3 separate regions of the Homo sapiens genome follow, and all the other regions are linked to region 1. The links are contacts of gene promoters, found by promoter capture Hi-C in blood cells and fetal thymus (Javierre and others, 2016). All regions are on one chromosome and are shown on one strand. The core of a region is centred on a gene start or on the middle of the fragment in contact, and the rest is flanking DNA. Distances in the headings are between cores, read along the strand shown.

Region 1 (4,714 bases), core at 897-3,396:
AAAACGTTATTCTTGCTAGACGGGAATGATTATGTAGTTACAATAAAACAACCTGACATCGTGGGAAGGCAGGAGGAATCTCCGCGAACCCTGGGGCAAGCTCTTCGTACCCCGTTGCCTACTGTTGGCTTTTCGGCGAGCCTAGTGAGCTGTACCTGGCCCCACGGTCCGGGAGAGTAGCATTTCTCCGGGTCGCATCCTGCCAGCCTCCTGCCCTGGATGACCACAGAACAGAAACCCTCGAACCCAACCCCAGCTCAGAACTTCTAGAAGAGCCACCGCTGCCATATAGGCCCCCCATGCGACTCTGCCCAGAATCTGGCGACTTTAAGAGGAAAAGGAGCCCCCAGCCTCAGCTCTTCAACGAATGAGATAGTACAGCCCCCCCAAAAGGCAGACAGGCTCCAAGACAGCCCTGCAGAAAACTAATGACCATTCCCCCGTCTCGTGTGCGCCCCGCTCTTCCAGGTCACTCCTTGAGCCCACAGCTCTCTCCCAAAACCCCTGAAGCCCGTTTTGGCCCCCGACTAGATTTAGGTCAGAAAACAGACACTAACGGCTCTCCTTTGCCTCAGTGAAATTACTAAGTGGAATTTATTGGGCAAGTCCACGCAGGGCGGTGGGGAGAGCCGGTGTCCCGGGCCCTGGCCCCCGACAGCTTTAGAAGCCGGGCACTGGCCAGGGCTCCGGGCGAGGGCTGCCCATAGCCCGGACTCGCCAGCCCCACCCCGGGAGCCTTGGCCGGTCCACAGGGCTGCCGGACTCGCGTGGCCGCGTGGACTCCGTTCCCCAGCCGGCCCTTTGCTTTCACACGATCCGCGGTGACTGCACCAGCTCGAGCGCCTTTAAAGGGCCACAGACGCCAGCCGCTGCTATAAAAATGTGCCCGGCGGCAAAGCTGCAGAAGGGGCACCGCTGAGCTGCCGAGAGGAAGCTCGCTCTGCCCGGCTGCCCTCTTGTAGTCCGCCGGCGAGGGGCAGTTCTCGGTGAGGAGGAAGAGAGCAGCGGACGGCACAGCACCCGCGCGGGCCCTCCGTGAGTATCCAGTTCAGATTTTGCCACCAACTCGCCCACGAGCCAGGACATGTGCTAATAATGCCCTAAGCCGGTTATAAAGACGTGGAAATTGAGGGGAGAAAAAAAAAGGGAAAAAAAGGGTCTGTCCTTCCTGGGATTCCTAGCCGAGGCCAGTCTGCTGCCGTGTGCGTGTGCGTCAGGGCTCTCCGGGCGGCAATGGGGGCTTGAGAGCCGGGTCCCCAGCGCCGGGAAGGGAGCGCGGTGGCCGCCACCGCCACCGCCCCGGAGTCCGGCGCCGAAGCTGCGGGCGGGCGGGCGGGCACCAGCTCGGTCAGGGGCTGCTTGGCGCGGCACTGTGCGGTGCAGCGGCGGCGCGGCGCGGTGCGGGCTTTTCCCAGGCGCCCCGGGGTCGGGTGGCCAACGGCGCGGCCGCGGGCGCTGAGCGCGACCGGTTCGCGGTAGCGGTGGCGGCGGCGTGCGTGCCAGGGGCTGGGGGCTCCGCCGCCTCTCTTGCGGCTCACCGAGCTCCGCGCTTCCCTCTCTCCAGGGCAGGCGGCTTCTCAGAGGTAAGCCGGGCCGCCGGGCTGGGCGCCGGGCTGGGCGGCGGGGCCGAGGACTCCCGTGGAGCGGGTATGGGGAGTGGGCGGCCGCCAGGCGGGCCGGAGGGTTCTGGGGAGACTTGCTTTCTGTTGGAAAGCTGCTCTGCTGGGGGCGAGGGGCCGCCCGCCCGCCCGCCCGCCAGCGCTCGGGTTCGCTTGCCAGCGCGCCCCCCTGCCGGCCAGCGGGGCCGGGTGCCCGCTTCTCCCGGGGAGACGGCAGCACCTTTTCTCCCTGCGCCCGCGCTTTCTCCAGCTTGGCTTCCACCGACTTTGCTAATCTCCCGGACCGCATCTGGACGCTCTGGCTCCGGAGCTGCACAAAGCTCAGATTTACTTCGGGGAATTGAGGCAAGAGGGGGCTTTTCGGGCCGAGTTCAGCGGAATTGCGGGATGGAAGTTAGCGAATTTGGGCAACTTGCCTCTACTGCCCAGTCGACCTCAGCCCTCCCCTCCCCCGACACACGCCCACACACACACACCCACGCGCACACCCCTCTCCCTATAAACGCGGGCTGGCGAGCCGCGCGCCGAGTCCCTGCTTCGCAGAGCACCGGACTTGGAGTCAGAGAGACCTGGCTGCGAATCCCGGCTCCGCCACTTTCTAGCGCTGTGACCTTGGGCAAGTTACCGCACCTCTCCGAGCCTCTCTCACTCTTCTCCTAGCGGGGTTTTAGCACTGACCGCAGGCGGCTTGGCTAGGGGGTAGGCTCAGCCTGCTGCCGCGTCGGATGCTCAGCGGGCGCTCAGTAAGTGTTGATCAGGCGCGAGAGTGGCAGCAGCCGGCGCCGGAGTGCGGACTCGCCGCGGAGGCCGACACCCCGTGCCCCTTCCTGCCTGTCCATCCTGTCTCTAAGATCAGTTCCTGATACAGCACTTGCGGGAACGGACGCTCAGGGCCCCGGTGGCCTGGGTGCACGCGCCCGCCGTGCAAGGGATGCTCCCGGCCGCCCCCGGTTCCGCGGCTCCATCTGGGATGCGGCGAGGAGGGCAGCCGAGCTGTCCGCAAACAACGGGCCTTTAGTTTTCAGGTGGCGAAACTGACTGGTCTGGTTAGAGCGCGTCCAAGCCAAGCCGCAGTGCTGTTTGGATTTTTAAATTTCTCCTTCTGAGTGAGAAAATAGCAATCGAGATGGAACCATCCGGTTGGTGCCATTTTAACTTTTGGTCCCCCAACAGGTTAAAGATGAGGCCCCCACCTGCCTCTCCCTTCTCTTTTCCCTCTCCCCTTCCCACCCCTGTCTAGGCGGGAGGGGGCTGCTCGCCCAAGGGAAGGCCTGAAGCGAAGAGCGGGCAGCGGGACTGGGAACTGGTGGCCGGGGGGCCGCCAGGCATCAGCCGGCGAGAAGGCACTTGTTGCTCTAGGTTTCCCAGCCGCCTGTCGCAGCCGTTTCGCAGTGGTCAGCTCGCGGCTTGGAGAGCGGGCTGGGACGTTTCCGCGTTGCCAAGTTTTGCCCACGAACGGGCTAGAGGGTGGTGGAGGAGGGCAGAAAGCCGGGGAAGCAGAGCCAGGGATGCCGATGGAAATGCGATTGCTTCTTCAGACGCATTCAACAACACTTACTGAGCGCCTATTGAGCGCAGACCCAGGCTGGGGTCAGGGTGGGTGGTGGGTCAGTAATGGAAGGCAGAAGATCTGAATGGACACAGGGCCTCTTCTGGGGGAGCTCCCAGATTGAAGAGGGAGGCGCGGTAAAATGGTCTTCCCCCACGAACTGATATCAGAATAGAGAGAGTTTTTTTGCTCGTTCTCTCTTTTGATTTTTCTAATGTTTCTCTTTTGGTTTTGCTGTTGTTGCTGCTGCTCCTGTTGTTTTTTCTTCGTTTTGTACATTCGGGTACCAAGCGGCAAAAAGGAGAGGGAAGGCTGGATAGGAACAGGAAAAGATGGACAGGGCCCCCAGACATTTTTCTTAGGACAGGAAAATTGTCTGATACTGATTGTGCTAGGGCTCTTGAAGACGACATGTGTTAGACTTCTTGTCTGGTGATCACTTGCTTTTGAAATATTTTTCTACGGTTGCCTCAGAGAAGGAGCAGGGCTTCAATCAAGCAATGATGCGGGACCCAACAGCTGATATTTTTTCCTCATGTTTTTAAAAAAATGTTTACCCCTTTCTCTATTTTTTCCCTCCCCTACCCCCATCCACCCAAGTAAGCAATGCAAAGATGATACAGAGAGGTAGTAAGTGGCCACTTTCTAGAAGTGTCTGAGCAGATTCTTAATGACCGCTGCGGAGTGGAGAGTGTCACGGAGAATTCTAGCCTCCTTGGAAAGATTAGAGACTCTTTTTAAGGTCCTCAAGATTCTTTGGACCAAGAGGTATTTATAAATATGAAATTCTACATCTCTAATTGATCATGAAAGCTAGAATATATGGGGCTTTTTTTTTTTAAAGAGATAGGGTCCCGCTATGTTGCCCAGCCTGGTATCAAACTCCAGGGCTCAGGTGATCCTCCCACCTCAGCTTCCTGAGTAGCTGAGACTACAGGAGGGTGCTACTGTGCCTAGCTATGGGACATTTTTTTCTTCTTTGTAAACAGGCCTCCAGGAAAATAAGTTGAGATTTTCAGAGGTTTGTTTATTTTCTGGTTTGGAGGTATTCTTTTGCCTTCATTCCCTTATCCTTTGGCACTTGAGCCAGGAAATCACTTCTTTGGAAGCCTTTTGAATCCAGCTAGGTATGATGACTTAGCCAGTGGTCAGGTGAGGCATGTGGCCATAGGGGTGCTAGATTCTGCTCCCAGAACCGCTGCTACCTGACTAAAAAGGCATTGAATCTCTGTGCCTCACTTGTCACTATAGATGGGAATGGCTGGACTCAGGTTTCTGGGGTAGGCATCCTAGGAAAGCCCAATGCTGGGGCTGTCTTGGAGGGGGCTTGAGACATGGAGGAAAGTGACACATTCCTAGCTTCTCTGGCTCCAGCTGCCTCAGAGCCCCCAGACCACCCTAATCAGCCTGGCTTCTCACAGGCATGCCCAAGGTCATGCTTTGGAGCTCCATGACATTTGCGCTAGAGACTTGTTATTTCCCTGTGCTGCAGCCTCTAGCTTTCTAGGTCTTCCTTGCCCTGACTTCTTCTCACATTCTCCCAGTC
Region 2 (4,714 bases), core at 876-3,375, 2.0 Mb before region 1:
GCGGTGGCTTGTGCCTATAATCCCAGCACTTTGAGAGGCAAAGGCAGGCAGAACACTTAGGGCCAGGAGTTCAAGACCAGCCTGGCCAACATGGCGAAACCCCATCTCTACTAAAAATACAAAAATTAACTGGGTGTGGTGGTGCACGCCTGTAATCCCAGCTACTCAGGAGACACAAGAATCGCTTGAATTCGGGAGGTGGAGGTTGCAGTGAGCTGAGATGGAACCACTGCATTCCAGCCTGGGGAACAGAACAAGACCCTGTCACCAAAAAAAAAAAAAAAAAAAAAAAAAAAAAAAGGATGGGCGCAGTGGCTCACGCCTGTAATCCCAGCACTTTGGGAGGCCAAGGCAGGCGGATCACGAGGTCAGGAGATGGAGACCATCCTGGCTAGCACGGTGAAACCCCATCTCTACCAAAAATACAAAAAATTAGCCGAGTGTGGTGGCAGGCGCCTGTAATCCCAGCTACTCGGGAGGCTGAGGCAGGAGAATGGCATGAACCTGGGAGGCGGAGCTTGCAGTGAGCCGAGATCGCGCCACTGCACTCCAGCCTGGGAGACAGAGCAAGACTCCGTCTCAAAAAAAAAAAAAAAAAAAAAAAACCCAGAAAAAAAAGAAAATGCTTTAGCCAGCTCAGCCCAAGAATTGGGATCTCAACATCCTTCCAAGGAAGGGATAGAGTGACAACATTCTCAACAACATAATTGTGTCACATCAGCAGAAGCATACTAACTGCTTGCAAAGGCATCTTTCCCACCTGCATTTAGGTGACCTACCCTAATCTGACGCATCTGCCTTATTAATTAGCTCCTTTGCCTACTATAGTGGTCCCCAAGGACAAAGATGTCCTCTCATCTCAGAGTACTTCAAATCCTTAGCTGAGCTAAGGGAGCTCCTTTCACTGTAGCTGTTATGGGATCAGGGGCAGCCCACTCTTGGTCCAGAAGCATGAACTCTTCTCCTTTTCCTGTTTGGGACCGTGGATCTTACAACTTCTAGCACCTGCCTAGCGAGGGACCCAGGTGGGCTGGCTGATCTTTCCTGGGCAGCTTAGCATTTCTGACCATAAAAGTTCTAATGATGTGAGTTCACTAAAATACTGGTGCTACAACTTGGCCAGGCGAATGAGGTATATAGGGAGACCACAAAAACTATAGAATGAAGTACAGCAAAGAGTGATGCCATGCCAAACTGATGCAGAGGTATTCCAAATATTGAATTCCAATCACTTAAAGGCCTTCCAAGATCAATTTGCCTATTTATTGTCCTACCGATGGGAATAGACCTCTTCCCAATTGCTTGATCACCAGGATCCTATAGAACTCACTTGTAGGATTTTGAGGCTGAGCCAAAAAAGATAACCACAAGGTGGCAGTAGCACATAACAAGCTTTGTTTGGGTGGCACTTGGAGAGGTTGCTTGAGAGAGGAAGTCCTTCACAGCAGGAGACTATCCAGAGGCAACTGTACCGGGTCATTACTCAGAAGGGGAAAGGGCAAGGGAACTCCCAGGGGAAAGCTGAGGGCTGAATCAGAGATAGAGTTTATTTGTGTAGGTTATATTACTCAGCAGCAAGATGGGGAGTGTATTAGTCCATTCTCACACTGCTATAAAGAAATACCTGAGACTGGGCAATTTATAAAGTAAAGAGGTTTAATTGACTCATGGTTCTGCAGGCTGCATAGGAAGCATGGCTGGGGAGGGCTCAGGAGACTTTCAATTATGGCATAAAGAGAAGGGGAAGCAAGCACGTCTTGCATGGCTGGAGCAGGAGGAAGAGGGGTTGGGGAAGTGCCACACACTTTTAAACAACTGGATCTTGTGAAAACTCTATAACAAGACAGCACTAGGAGGATGGTGCTAAACCACTGGAAACCACCTCCATGATCCAATCACCTGCAACCAGGCCCCACCTCCAGAATTGGGGATTACAATTGAACATGAGATTTGGGCAGGGACGCTGATCCAAACCATATCAGGGAGTTTCTGGGTTAGAGAGCATCAAAGGTCAGCATTAGCTTGGTTTTTTATAGATACAGGGTTTGTCTTATCAATGTCTAGCAGATGTTAGGTATAGTGTTGTGGAGTATGTAAAGCAGGCTGGCTGTAACTGGCCAATCTGCCAGAATCTGCTTAGTTGATTTATATTTAAAACAACTGGATGTGTAAAAATTTTAGGCTTTTGAGCTACAGGTACTAGCCTGCTGTGAAGAAGTAACAATATGGGGGCAATCTTTAGCTTAATTATATAACAGTAGTAGCCATACAGTTTATAATTGAAACACTTTGATATAGACTTTATTTCCTGGTCATTGGAACACTTTGATTGTAGACATTGTTTCCTGGTGGATATCAATGACACATCTCCTCAGAGGGATTGTTTCAGATCTGGCCATGCGATGGTGTAATGAGGCCAAAGAACCAGCAAACCCTCTGAGTACTGTATCTGATATCATAAGTGTTTTCCATTGTATCTAATAAGGAGTTAGAATTAAACCCTGAGTTTATAAATCTTCCAAACAAAAACTCAAAGGGAGAAATAACACACTTGCTGAAACAGGTGACCTTATTTTTAATAAAATCAATGGTAAAGTGTGATAAGATTCTGGGCTATCACAAGCCAGTGGTTTGATATTATTTAGCCAAAAAATTCTTTAGAGTATGGCCTTACTCTTCCATCACGGTATATGCAGTCAACTCTATTCCTTTCCTTGTCGTCTCACAAGACACTTAGGATCAAGTGATTCCTAGCTAAGAAACAAGTATGAAATCATCCCATTCTGGATTTGGATGAAAACTGGTAATAAAATCAAGTAAAACTCCTGGAGGATGCATTGGTTAAGAACCAAGCTTAGTCTATAAGTGTAGCAGGACAAGCCGCAGACAAAACTCCTCAGACGCCGGGTTAAAGAAGGAAGGAGCTTTATTCGGCCGGGAGCGTCAGCAGACTCACGGCTCAAAAACTGAGCTCCCTGAGTGAGCAATTCCTGTCCCTTTTAAGGGCTTATAACTCTAAGAGGGGTCCGCATGAGAGGGTTGTGATCGATTGAGCAAGCAGGGCATACGGGACTGGGGGCTGCATGCACCGGTAATCAGAATGGAACAGAACAGGACAGGGATTTTCACAATGCTTTTCCATACAATGTCTGGAATCTATAGATAACATAACCAGTTAGGTCAGAGGTCGATGTTTAACTACCAGGCCTGGAATGCAGCACCAGGCTGTCTGACTACTGATTTCACTTCTGTCTTTTCTTTAACTCCTACTTTTTCTTTGAGGCAGAAATTGGGCATAAGACAATATGAGGGGTGGTCTCCTCCCTTATTAGGAATTGAACATGAGATGGCACACATATTTATGCTGTATCAAGGTCACAATTATCTTACTGTATAAAACTGAAAACATCACTATCTGGACAGTTGGACATGTTTATGGGGAAAATTATGTTTATCTTTATTTCTATGCTCTGTACTAGTAGGTTGGTTCATTAATAAATATGTGAAAACTTTTGTTTAAAAAAATTATTTAGAATATGCTTCATTCATTCTTCTTGTCCATAAGACTGGGAATAATAAGGAGTATTGTAAATTACTGGCAATTTTTTTTTTTACAGAGCTCTTAAGTTACCATAGAAATGAAATAGCTTTTCCCAACAGATTCCAGATATTTAGAATTCCAAAGGTTGAGATGATAAAATTCAGTAAGGCCTTGATCACTGTTTGAGCATCTGCTTTAGCTGATAGGAGCACTTCCAGTAATTCAGACATCATATACAATTATTCTAATCAATATCTCTTACCTTCTGAGGACGGAAACTCTATAAAATCCGTTTGCTACCAGATTCCAGGTAATAATGCCTTCAGTAGGCTTCCTTAGCTTCCTTATGTGCCCCCTGTAAACAATTTTTCTGACAAGCAACATACCTTTGTATTATATCCTGAATTATTTGATCTTTATTCCAAGTGTGATAAGATTCCAAGGTGTTCAGTATATTTCTTTTGTTTAAATTAGTTTGTTGACAATATGAAAAAGGCATCCAAGGTACAACAATTGAAGTGCAGGAATAATTTTATTGTATAATTCCCAAAGCCCTATGGTGTTCTTAGATACCCTTGGTTTCCAATTTTCTAAATCTTGTGAAGTTGCACGTTTCTGAAATTGTGAATAGGAATCCCCGGATATAAGTAATGGTGATTAAATTTCTCCAGTCAAAACTTTAGTAGCCTTTTTCACAGCTTGGTGTGCAAATTAAATTTCTTTAGACGTTTTACTGTGTCTGGTATGCACACCACAATGAATTACAGAAATCTGTTGGAGAAGCTGGGATAACTCTAAAAGATTGAGAATTAGTTTACAATGTGATATTTTAGTTCACATGGATGTTAGAAAGCCTCTATTCTTCCATATTTGTTTCATAGCATGATAGACTCCAAATGCATATTTGCTATCAGTATAGATATTTACTTCAAGATTGGTGGCTAATTTAAAAGTTTGTGCAAGAACTATGAGTTCTACTTCTTGGGCTGATTTTATGTTTGCAGAGGATAAGCCTCTAAAACCTCATAAGGAGATTCTGGGAATATGGGAGAATAGAAAGTCCCAGGAACCGGCCGGGTGCAGTGGCTCACGTCTGTAATCCCAGCACTTTGGGAGGCCAAGGCGGGCAGATCACAAGGTCAGGAGATCGAGACCATCCTGGCTAGCACGGTG
Region 3 (4,714 bases), core at 1,577-4,076, 2.0 Mb before region 1:
TGAGCTAATAGTAATAGACTGAGGAGAGGCAGGGGACACCAAGCAAGCCCTGTCCATTCAGCTTATTCTTGGCCTCTTTATGCAGCATACCTTCTTTATGGGTATAGGACAGGACCCTCTCTGGAATGGGGGTCTTGTCACCTACACTCAAAAAGGTAGATCGGGCCGGAGATGGTGGCTCACATCTGTAATCCCAACACTTTGGGAGGCTGAGGTGGGTGGATCACCTGAGGTCAGGAGTTCAAGACCAGCTGGCCAACAACAACAAAACAAAAAAAATTAGCGGCCGGGCACGTGGCTCACGCCTGCAATCTTGCACTTTGGGAGGGCGAGGCGGTCAGATCACTTGAGGTCAGGAGTTTGAGACAAGCCTGACCAACATGGTGAAACCCTGTCTCTACTAAAATACAAAAAAATTAGCCGGGCGTAGTGGCTCTTGCCTATAATCCCAGCTACTCAGGAGGCTGAGGCAGGAGAATCGCTTCAACCTGGGAGGTGGAGGTTGCAGTGAGCCAAGATCGTGCCATTGCATTCCAGCCTGGGCAACACAGTGAGAGTCAGTCTCAAAAAAAAAAAAAAAAAATTAGCTTGGCGTGGTGGCTCATGCCTGTAGTCCCAGTTACCCAGGAGACTGAGGCATGAGAATTGCTTGAACCTGGGAGGCAGAGGTTGCAGTGAGCCGAGATCATGCCACTGCACGCCAGCCTGGGCAACAGAGTGAGAGTCAGTCTCAAAATAAATAAATAAATAAATAAAGACAGGTCAGATAATTTCTTTATGACCAGTCTTTACAAAACAAGATAGATGAAAAGGTTTTATGGCTGGCACTGGGGAAAAGGGGTTCTGGTTTCTATGACCCCCCATGGGGAACAGGGATTTTAGTTTCTGTGGCTAGCCGTGGGGGAGAATGAGAGGTGAGAGACAAGAGAGCAGGAGAAGGTCAGAGAGAAACTTTGTTTCTGAGGCTCTTTCTGAGGCTTTCATTTTGTTTGCTTGTTTTTTTTTTTAATTTTTAATTTTTGCGGGTACATAGTAGGTGTGTATATTTATGAGGTACATGAGATATTTTGATACAGGCATACAATATATAATAGTCATATCAGGATAAATGTGGTGTCTATCACGTCAAGCATTATCCTTTGTGTTAGAAACAATGCAATTATACTCTTTTAATTGTTTTAAAATGTACAATGAAATTATTGTTGACTACAGTCACCCTGTTGTGCTATCAAATATTAGACCTTCCTGGCTAATAAGGTGAAACCCCGTCTCTACTAAAAATACAAAAAATTAGCCAGATGTGGTGGCATGCGCCTGAACTCCCAGCTACTCGGGAGGCTGAGGCAGGAGAAACGCTTGAACCCGGGAGGCGGAGGTTGCAGTGAGCCGAGATCCTGCCACTGCACTCCAGCCTGGGCGACAGAGCGAGATTCCGTTTCAAACAAAAACAGAAAAGAAATCTTTACCCAGTCCAATGTTCCAGAGAGTTCTCCAATGGTTTTTTGTTGGTTTGTTTGTGTTTGTTTTGTTTTGTTTTTGAGAAGGAGTCTCGCTCATGTCGCCCAGGCTGGAGTGCAATGGTGCAATCTCTGCTCATTGAGATCTCCGTCTCCCAGATTCAGGTGATTCTCCTGCCTCAGCCTCCGGAGTAGCTGGGATTACAGGTGTCTGCCACCACACATACCCAGCTAATTTTTGGATTTTTGGTAGAGATGTGATCGCACCATATTGGCCAGGCTGATCTTGAACTCCTGATCTCAGATGATCCACCCGCCTTGGCCTCCAAAGTGCTGGGATTACAGGCGTGAGCCATCGTGCCCGGCCCCAGTGGCTTTTTTTTTTAAGTAGTTTCATAGTTTGAGGTCTTACAGTTAAGTCTTTAATCCATTTTGATTTGATTTTTGTATATGGCGAGAGATAGAGGTTCAGTTTCATTCTTTTGCATATGGATAGCCAGTTTTCCCAGCACCTGAGGCCTTCATTTGGGGTAATTTTTTTCTGAGTCCCAACAATATAAAAAGCTTATTTACATATGTAAGCATATATTCATTATTCAACATATATTTCTTGAGCACCTACTAGGCGCCACACTTGTTCTACACACTGAAATACAGCAATTAACAAAACACAGAAATATCTCATCCCTCATGGACATTGTGTCATAGTTGGAAGGAAAAGAACCAAAACAAAAAGGTAAAACATATGTTAAATCATAGAAAGTGTTATAGAAAAATATAAAATGTTTGTTCAGCCAAACTGAATGTATCCTTGATCACTGTGGGGTACGTGCAGAGGGAAAGTGGTCTGCCACCTGGGCTGAGCTTGCCAAAGCCTAGACAGGCACAAGAGCAGGGAAGAGTCCTGCTCAGAAATCAGGATCCAAGACCTGAAGACCTTCAGGATCAAAGACCAATACTTAGCATGGAGAGGACCCCTTGCCTTCTCCTCCTGACCCAGCCGGTCCTCCTGAAAACAGAAACCCCACTAGAAGGAGAAACACCTGTCCACTGACATGGTCTTGAGCCAGGAGGTCCCTGTCTGAGCAGGGCAGTGAAAGAAGTCTGAGACAAGAATTGTGTCCTGGACTCTGCAAATTCATCAAAAGTAGCAGTTCACTCTTTAAGGAGATTACAATATATCCCTATGCACATAAAGACCAAGTGGAAAGTAGGGGATCAGAGGCCTGCAAACTGTGGTGAGGGCTGTCCCCTGAGAGGTGGCTAGTGATGGGGGTTAGGGGGTCACAGAAAGTAGAGGTTACAGATCTCTATAGCAAAGCAGATTGGAGTAGCTGCCCTCCTCCCCTTACTCGCTCCTTCCTCCCTATGCCCCTTGCAGGAAGGAGCCACAAGGAGACTGACTTGGATTCCACAGAAAAAAGTACTTTCTACTGATAAGAAACAGAAAGGGGCTGGGCGCAGTGGCTTACGCCTGTAACCCATCACTTTGGGAGGCCAAGGCGGGCGGATCACGAGGTAAGAAGCTCGAGACCAGCCTGGCCAACATGGTGAAACCCCATTTCTACTAAAAGTACAAAAATTAGCTGGGTTCGTGCCTGTAATCCCAGCTACTTGGGAGGCTGAGGCAGGAGAATTGCTTGAACCCGGGAGGCGGAGGTTGCAGTGAGCCAAGATCACGCCACTGCACTCCAGTCTGGGTGACAAGAGCGAGACTCCGCCTGCTCAGGGGCCGGGGCGGGGCGGGGGGGTTTGGGGGGGGAGGGGTGCGGGGCGGAGATACAGAAAGGCCTGCCTCAGGAGGAAGTAAGCACCCGGTCATCAAAGAGAATATCTAAGCAGAGACGGAGGGTCCTTTGTCATTCAGCCAGTGGTTAAACTCCAGGACACTTGGGGGCCCATTGACCCTAAAATGCATTGATCCTCTGTATTTGGAGAAGGAACTCTGCTCAGTTTTGTCTAGCCAAGTCAGGTGATTCCTAGGATTTTTGACATAATAAGAGTTCAGAAACACCCCCAGGGACCAGAGGCCTTTCCTGGGGTTTTGCAAAGGAGCAGCATTAGCATTCTTTACTGCTCTAATCAGCATCTTAATTGCCAGTCTGTCTCTCAGTCTTTATACTAAGTACCTGGTGCATATTCACCCTCCACCCCCAACCTCCAGTTAAGCTTGAGGGCAAACCTGATATTCCCTAGACCATCTGTATTCCACCTCCTCTCCCTCCCCCTTTTAGAGAGCTCAGGAAATTGGTTTTCATCCAACAGGCTCCTGTTGCTTAGTAACAGAAGCACCTGCTCCTAGCAACCAGGAGCCACAAAGATGCTGCAGAAAGAGGGGGCTGTCTGGACCCTGCTCTTGCTCAGCTATAGACAGCTGGCCTTCCCAATATTTTCCTCATCCAGCACAGACACTCTGTCTCAGATGCCTGTTCTTGAAAAGCTGATCTCTGGGGCAGCTGCTGACCTCACCCCCAACCTGCCTGCCTGGAGCCCCTCTGAATCTCACCTCCCAGGCCACCAGGAGGCAGCTCATGATCACAACTTGGTGGCTCTGGGAAGTGCCCCCACTTAAGAGGGAGAGAGGTAACCAGCTATGTTGGTTTCTTCAGTCTGGCCTGGTGGGTGAGAGTAGGGTGTGCCACACAGGCTCCTATAACCCTGGGTGAGAGCGATTCCTGCCCAGGATGTAGGTGGGGGAGTGTGTCATAATCCAGTACATTTGAGAGTGAAGAGAGACCATATCATTCCCTCCTAGAGATCAGGAAACTGAGAGTAAGGACTGGCTCGGGCCCACACAGCCCTTCGGTGACAGCTGATTCTGAAGCAATGCCAGAACGTGGGGCTCCCCAACATAGTCAGCATCCATGAGACTGCCAGCCCACCGTGCAGTGCCAGAGGCTTCTGCTTCCCCTCCCCAAAGGACACCAAGAACACATTTCTCCACTGCCTAAGAAGACCCCAGCCATCTTGCCTTCTGGGATGGCCCGAGCTCAGGGTGATCGCCAATGCAGATTTTTCCATTTGACGAGCTGCTTTCCTAGAATTTTTGAAATAACAAGAGTTTAGAAGTACCCAGGAGAGGTCTGTCCAGAGCTCTAACTCTGTGGACTGGTGCTAATTGGCATCTTCCTTAGTCACAGATTTCTCTGACCTTCACAGGAGGTGCAGGTGCGTGCATTCCCTCTCCGTCTCTCTGGGGCTTCAAGCTCTGAAAGTGGGGCTGTCCACCAGGAGTAAACCACGGAAAGTAGGGGTTG

What was found. The method cuts DNA at HindIII sites, captures the fragments that hold promoters and counts their contacts. A CHiCAGO score of 5 or more calls a contact.
Region 2: a contact is called between a fragment that was not itself captured here and the fragment with the promoter of CITED1 in region 1, in 1 of 17 cell types (non-activated CD4 T cells). The highest score is 5.9, in non-activated CD4 T cells.
Region 3: a fragment that was not itself captured here is called in contact with the fragment with the promoter of CITED1 in region 1 in 1 of 17 cell types (neutrophils); the score reaches 6.9 in neutrophils.

What each region holds. Positions count from the first base shown.
Region 1 is chrX:72,303,346-72,308,059 of GRCh38, reverse strand. CITED1 (Cbp/p300 interacting transactivator with Glu/Asp rich carboxy-terminal domain 1) reads left to right here and starts at 2,146. Exons shown (of 3, transcript NM_001144887.2): 1 at 2,146-2,235. LOC105373250 (a long non-coding RNA gene) reads right to left here and starts at 1,958. Exons shown (of 3, transcript XR_938441.2): 1 at 1,840-1,958. RefSeq lists an enhancer at 1,091-1,140 and a silencer at 867-1,161. The HindIII fragment of the contact is 8,247 bases long and covers 1-4,714 here.
Region 2 is chrX:74,340,864-74,345,577 of GRCh38, reverse strand. No RefSeq gene overlaps it. Among named protein-coding and RNA genes, the nearest start is that of ZCCHC13, 39 kb to the right of the region's middle. The HindIII fragment of the contact is 1,461 bases long and covers 1,395-2,855 here.
Region 3 is chrX:74,324,493-74,329,206 of GRCh38, reverse strand. No RefSeq gene overlaps it. Among named protein-coding and RNA genes, the nearest start is that of ZCCHC13, 23 kb to the right of the region's middle. RefSeq lists enhancers at 2,681-3,447, 3,448-4,213. The HindIII fragment of the contact is 1,605 bases long and covers 2,024-3,628 here.